Regions from separate parts of the Homo sapiens genome. Here region 1 is linked to region 2. Evidence: promoter capture Hi-C in human tissues and cell types (Jung and others, 2019). All regions are on one chromosome and are shown on one strand. Each heading gives the region's core, a stretch centred on a gene start or on the middle of the fragment in contact. The rest is flanking DNA. Distances are from core to core; before and after follow the strand shown. Region 1 has its middle 79 kb from the start of NPBWR1. Region 2 holds the start of NPBWR1 (neuropeptides B and W receptor 1).

Region 1 (3,017 bases), core at 82-2,581, 79 kb before region 2:
GGACTGGCATTACCATTGTTATTGATCTTTATAGCAAGAATAATCATTTCAAAACAATTATGTTATTCTCCTCATTTTTCCTTTAAAAACCTTTGTCATTCTTTACTTCCCTGAATACACACATAGTTAACTATGGTAACTGTATTCCCATCACAAGGCTCTAGTCCCAAATAAACATCATTTTCTTTCAGAAAGCATCTCTCTGTTTGTTATTTATGTTGACATAAATGGTGTTCAGAAGTGGGACCTAGAGTAGGATCCCATTTGGATGAGTCAGAGATTCTTGGAACCAGTTTGCAGTACTTGAGCCTCTCTGCTTCCATGGCTCTCTGCTTCCATGGCTCACCTTTCCTGTCCTGGAGAGTCTTCTCTCAGCCGAGGAGTCCTCTTTTGGGTAGAAGCTCTTGACTTTGTCTGCATGAGGCCACCTTACTAAAGAACCATACATTCCTCCTGGGATGATAAAAGACTTTTTGTCTTTTCTGGTAAGTCTTTTCTGATATAAAGACAAGTGTCCTCTGGGTTGAGCACTCTTGTTTCTATAATTTACATTTTGTCTGTGAGGCATGGCATTTCTGGTGAATTCACTTTTGGTTATGTACCTAGATTAAAATTTTGGTTAATTTGAAAGCCTGGGTTAACATTTTTGTGAACACTATTATCTTGGTTTCTTTTGATTTGGTTTGACTCTTCTCCTTTGCTTGTTTCCACAAATTTTCTGAGAGTAATCATAAACATAGTAAATGGTGGGCACAAGATGGCTAATTAAAAGCCACTAGGTGGTTGACTCCCTCTAAAACACTGGTCCAAACTCCTGAGGTCCTCTGACAGGATTTATAGGATTTTCTTTGCTTTTGTGAAGTTAATAAGAAATGGAATGGGATTCTCAAACATTAAGGCATGCCAGGTTTCCTGGGACTCCAGCCAGCTACATATTATGGCCTGTTCTTCCCATTTTAAAACTGATGGGCAAAATTACATCAAGAAAAATTCAGAGCTCAAATGGCCATTATTCAAATTCTCTAAAAAACTTCTAACTATAGAGTTGGTATTGTGATTTCATGACTAAAATTCTAAAATTAAAGGTATAAGATCTTTGTGCATATGTATAAATGTTTAGGTGTGTTTATGCACATATACATGTGTTATGTTATGTGTTGTATCTACATGGTAAAATCTGGCACAGCCAGAAATGCTCTAGGAATTTTATTTAGATTGGCTTAGGTAAATAAATACTCATATAAAATATATAGTAATTAACCCAAAATGGCTCTTTAGCTTACGTGACTTAAGCTGGCTTTAAAATTATTAACAAGATAGAAATATCTTCAGAATTGTCTGCATACAGTTTTGCTGGTCATGTGGCTTTATATTAGTTTCTGTTGGATGTTGACACACAGATGATGAAACTGTAAACCCAGCCTAAACAGAATGACCTTTCCTTTTGCAATTTTTTTGATACTTAAGACTAATTTAATATTGTTGTTTTAATGAAAACAACTGTATCTTCCGAGTTATTGGCAAAATGTCCATCTATTTAACTTTAAAGTTTTTACTTAGATGAACACCTGATATTCACAGGCTCTAAAGATGGTTAACAGAAATAATTCCAAACGATGACTAGCTTTGTTTAATATCTCAGTTTCCACAAGTAATCTAGGTAAACTATTAAAAATAAATAAATCAGGTAAATGTAAATGGTATAAGCATTTATAAGTAAACTTTTTATGTAATTAAAAAATTTAAAGCTCTGTTGCGTTAAATTACGTAATAAATACTCATTAAATGTCTAGGTCATTTCGAAATAAGATAAAAACGAAAACAAATTGGTGATCATAAATAAGTTTGATTTTTGTCCCTGAGATTTTATATAAAGACTAAATATATTTAGATCTATTAATACTTACATTTAGATCTAAGTATATTTGGATGAAGTATTTTGAACCCTTTGACATCTTTGGAAAGCTTCTCCAGGATTAAAATTCTAAGTGAAGCCTGTTACACCTAAAATTAACTTTGGGCCCCTGGAGAGCCTCAAAGAATGTGTCTCTCATTTTGCAGCGATATTAAATGATTAGACTTATTTGGTAAATTGTATGGGAAGCATTGTCAAATGATAAGCGATACTAGATCTTCTTTCAGTTACACTTATGGATATATTACTGATATAATGTTTCAAAAATTTTTATATAAATTCATAAAAATCTAATATGTTATCAGTCATAATTTTAGTTGTTAATGTTAAATCTTTTTTCAAAATGATATTTTTATGGATATGTTATTTATGTGAATATCCTAAAGATTACATAAAATGTATAAGTCTGATGGTCCTAATGTGACATTGTCAGTCATAATTCTGATTATCTTTATGCCACAGGTAATAAAAATAACTAAATTTCATTGTAAGTGTGAACTTTGATCAGTTTTTTTATCATAGTATCTTCAGTTATTGTTATCCACAGTTACTGTTTTGAATTCTTCTTTAAATGGCTTTGTAATCAGCTATAGTCCAAAATTGCTTTTCATGGAGAAGTCTAACAAGTACCCTCGAACACCGATTTCTGGTAATGTTAAGATCAATGGATGAAATAAAAATATTCAGAACTGTAATATAGAAACTGATCAAGCAAAATAAAATTTAATTACATGAAATCAAATAACTGATTAAGATCTTGTTTTTTTTTTTTTTTGAGATGGAGTTTTGCTCTGTCACCCAGGCTGGAGTGCAGTGGCAATATCTCAGCTCACTGCAAACTCCGCCTCCTGGGTTCAAGTGATTCTCCTTCCTCAGCGTCCTGAGTAGCTGGGATTACAGGCATCCACCACCATGCCTGGCTAATTTTTGTATTTTTAGTAGAGACGGAGTTTCACCATGTTGTCCAGGCTGGTCTCGAACTCCTGACCTCAGGTGATCTGCTCTCCTCAGCCTCCCAAAGTGCTGGGATTATAGGCGTGAGCCACTGTGCCTAACCAAGATCATGTTTTTATGATTTTTATTCAAAACATGGTTGGTTCTT
Region 2 (3,219 bases), core at 601-3,100:
ACACGTATGTGTATATAGTTGATCATCTTCAACCGTTTGGAGATTTTCTATTATATATATTTTTTCTTTAACATTATATGGTGTTTTATCATATAGTGTTTCTTACGGACATAGCTTAAGAATCATCTGTTATTTTGTTTCACAGAAAGTGTGAAACTGCAGGGGAGCCGATTTGTATAGATCCTGGTAAAAAGATAATTGAGTAGGTAAATTCCAGGGAGCTTTTGGACAGTGGATCCCCCTGTCAGTGGTTTTGGAGTCCCTAGTTTCAGTTACTCGTGGTCAACTGTGGTCTAAAAATATTAAACAGAAAATTCCAGGAATAAACAGTTCCTAGGTTTTCAATTGTGTTGACTTCTGATTGGCGTGATGAGATCCAGCCATCTTACTCCTTCCCACAGAAAGTGAGTCCTCCCTTTGCCCAGCGTTTCCCTGCTGTCTACAATATCCACCTGTTAGTCACTTCACAATCTGGGTTATTAGATGACTGTGGCAATGACCAGTGTGGTGTCTTCAAGTTGCCTTGATTTTACTGACTTTTTGCCCTTATTTCTCTCTGGCTCCAAAGTGCAAGAGAAGTGATGCTGGCAATTCAGATATGCCAAAGAGAAGCTGCAAATGCCTCCTTTAAGTTAAAAGGTAAAAATTCTGGACTTAATAAGGAAAGAAAAAAAATCATATGCAGAGGTTGCCAAGATCTACTAAAAACAAATCTATCCACGAAAATGTGAAGAAGAAAAAAGAAATGCATGCTAGTTTTGCTGTTGCATCATTTTTGGATGGAAGAACAGAAACATGTTCCCATTGACCGCAATGGGTACTATCCATGGTTTCAGGCATCCACTGGGGCTCTTGGAACCTATCCCCCATAGGTATGGGGGGGCTACTGTATTTCTGGCCCCACAGTCTTCTACTGCCGACTTTAGGTCTCTCTGGATCTCAGGCCCCCTTCTCTAAGATGCATCCTAGAGGACCAAAAATACACTTTATTTGGGCTTCGCCTGCTTTTGTGGAAGGGTAGTTTACTAGAGGATATAATCTCGTGTTTTAATTTGCTCTCTCTCCTAAAGGAAATGTGGAGAAAAAAAAAAAGCAGAAATTGGAAATAACCAATATTTAGTTTATTTCATTCGATTCTTAGGGGAACTGGTGAGGAGCCTAAGATGATTTTCCCTTCCTAGAGAAAGAATCCAAAGTCCAGGGAAATAGCGACAGGGGAGTTCAAGACTGCCCCTGCTAGTCCTTCCTTGGCTACTCTCCGCTGCGATCGCAGGATAGCTCTCATTAGCAGGAGAATCGGGCAAGTGTGTGGATAAGTAGAGAGTGTGTTGAACAACTTGTAACGTTTTATGAAATACGCATTGTCATGGTTCCCTAAAAGGCTTTGCGGAAGCCGTTTGTCTTTACTAATCAAGTCTTTACTTACACAAAAGTAGAAGTAGAAGTAGTTTTAGAAAACATACTAACAATCTTCTATCCCCTTGAAGACCAGAGTAGCAGAAAACAGGTGATTTGCATTATAAAATTGCACTCACTTTTTCCTCCTTTCAGATTTCACATTACATTAGCCTATTTGTGTTACGGTGTATAAAAAATGGAACAGGCGCCTCCACTACATTGTTCTCCTTTAAAAATAGATCACTTACACCCTAACTTTGTTTTCCTTAAATTCGATTCTTAACAGGAGAGCTTTCTATTATTTCAGATGGAGTGAGGTTGCACGACTGGGATGGAAGAAAGGAATCCCTTAAATTTGGGGGAATTTCTGTTCTCTGTTCTAAGACCATTTTACTTGGGGTGTGGGGGTGGGCGCGGCGGTCAGGGCAGTGGAACGCAGTCGCGGCTGCGCCATCCCTGCACTTCCAGGCGCGCGGGAGGGACCGGCGGGGACGCGAGCTGCGGACTCTGGCGAACTCGGGGGAGGCAGACAGGGGGAGGCGGACACCCAGCCGGCAGGCGTCTCAGCCTCCCCGCAGCCGGCGGGCTTTTCTCCTGACAGCTCCAGGAAAGGCAGACCCCTTCCCCAGCCAGCCAGGTAAGGTAAAGACTGCTGTTGAGCTTGCTGTTACTGAGGGCGCACAGACCCTGGGGAGACCGAAGCTTGCCACTGCGGGATTCTGTGGGGTAACCTGGGTCTACGGAAGTTTCCTGAAAGAGGGGAGAAGGGTTTGCATTTTTCCTATGGAGGATTCTTCTCTCTCTAGCATTTCGTTTGATGTATTCAACTGGTAGAAGTGAGATTTCAACAGGTAGCAGAGAGCGCTCACGTGGAGGAGGTTTGGGGCGCCGCGGCGCCACCCCCACCCCTCCTCGGGACCGCGCCTATTTCTAAAGTTACACGTCGACGAACTAACCTATGCTTTAAATTCCTCTTTCCAGCCCCGTGAGTCCGCGGCGACATTGGGCCGTGGGGTGGCTGGGAACGGTCCCCTCCTCCGGAAAAACCAGAGAACGGCTTGGAGAGCTGAAACGAGCGTCCGCGAGCAGGTCCGTGCAGAACCGGGCTTCAGGACCGCTGAGCTCCGTAGGGCGTCCTTGGGGGACGCCAGGTCGCCGGCTCCTCTGCCCTCGTTGAGATGGACAACGCCTCGTTCTCGGAGCCCTGGCCCGCCAACGCATCGGGCCCGGACCCGGCGCTGAGCTGCTCCAACGCGTCGACTCTGGCGCCGCTGCCGGCGCCGCTGGCGGTGGCTGTACCAGTTGTCTACGCGGTGATCTGCGCCGTGGGTCTGGCGGGCAACTCCGCCGTGCTGTACGTGTTGCTGCGGGCGCCCCGCATGAAGACCGTCACCAACCTGTTCATCCTCAACCTGGCCATCGCCGACGAGCTCTTCACGCTGGTGCTGCCCATCAACATCGCCGACTTCCTGCTGCGGCAGTGGCCCTTCGGGGAGCTCATGTGCAAGCTCATCGTGGCTATCGACCAGTACAACACCTTCTCCAGCCTCTACTTCCTCACCGTCATGAGCGCCGACCGCTACCTGGTGGTGTTGGCCACTGCGGAGTCGCGCCGGGTGGCCGGCCGCACCTACAGCGCCGCGCGCGCGGTGAGCCTGGCCGTGTGGGGGATCGTCACACTCGTCGTGCTGCCCTTCGCAGTCTTCGCCCGGCTAGACGACGAGCAGGGCCGGCGCCAGTGCGTGCTAGTCTTTCCGCAGCCCGAGGCCTTCTGGTGGCGCGCGAGCCGCCTCTACACGCTCGTGCTGGGCTTCGCCATCC

Evidence for each region. The method cuts DNA at HindIII sites, captures the fragments that hold promoters and counts their contacts. A contact is called where the count stands out against the background at its distance.
Region 1: a contact is called between a fragment that was not itself captured here and the fragment with the promoter of NPBWR1 in region 2, in 2 of the 25 tissues and cell types used here (pancreas and spleen).

Annotation. Positions count from the first base shown.
Region 1 is chr8:52,858,625-52,861,641 of GRCh38, forward strand. No RefSeq gene overlaps it. Among named protein-coding and RNA genes, the nearest start is that of NPBWR1, 79 kb to the right of the region's middle. The HindIII fragment of the contact is 5,247 bases long and covers 1-3,017 here.
Region 2 is chr8:52,937,332-52,940,550 of GRCh38, forward strand. It overlaps NPBWR1 (neuropeptides B and W receptor 1), which reads left to right and starts at 1,851. Exons shown (of 2, transcript NM_005285.5): 1 at 1,851-2,035; 2 at 2,380-3,219. The coding sequence starts at 2,577. RefSeq lists enhancers at 2,026-2,657, 2,658-3,219. The HindIII fragment of the contact is 16,506 bases long and covers 1-3,219 here.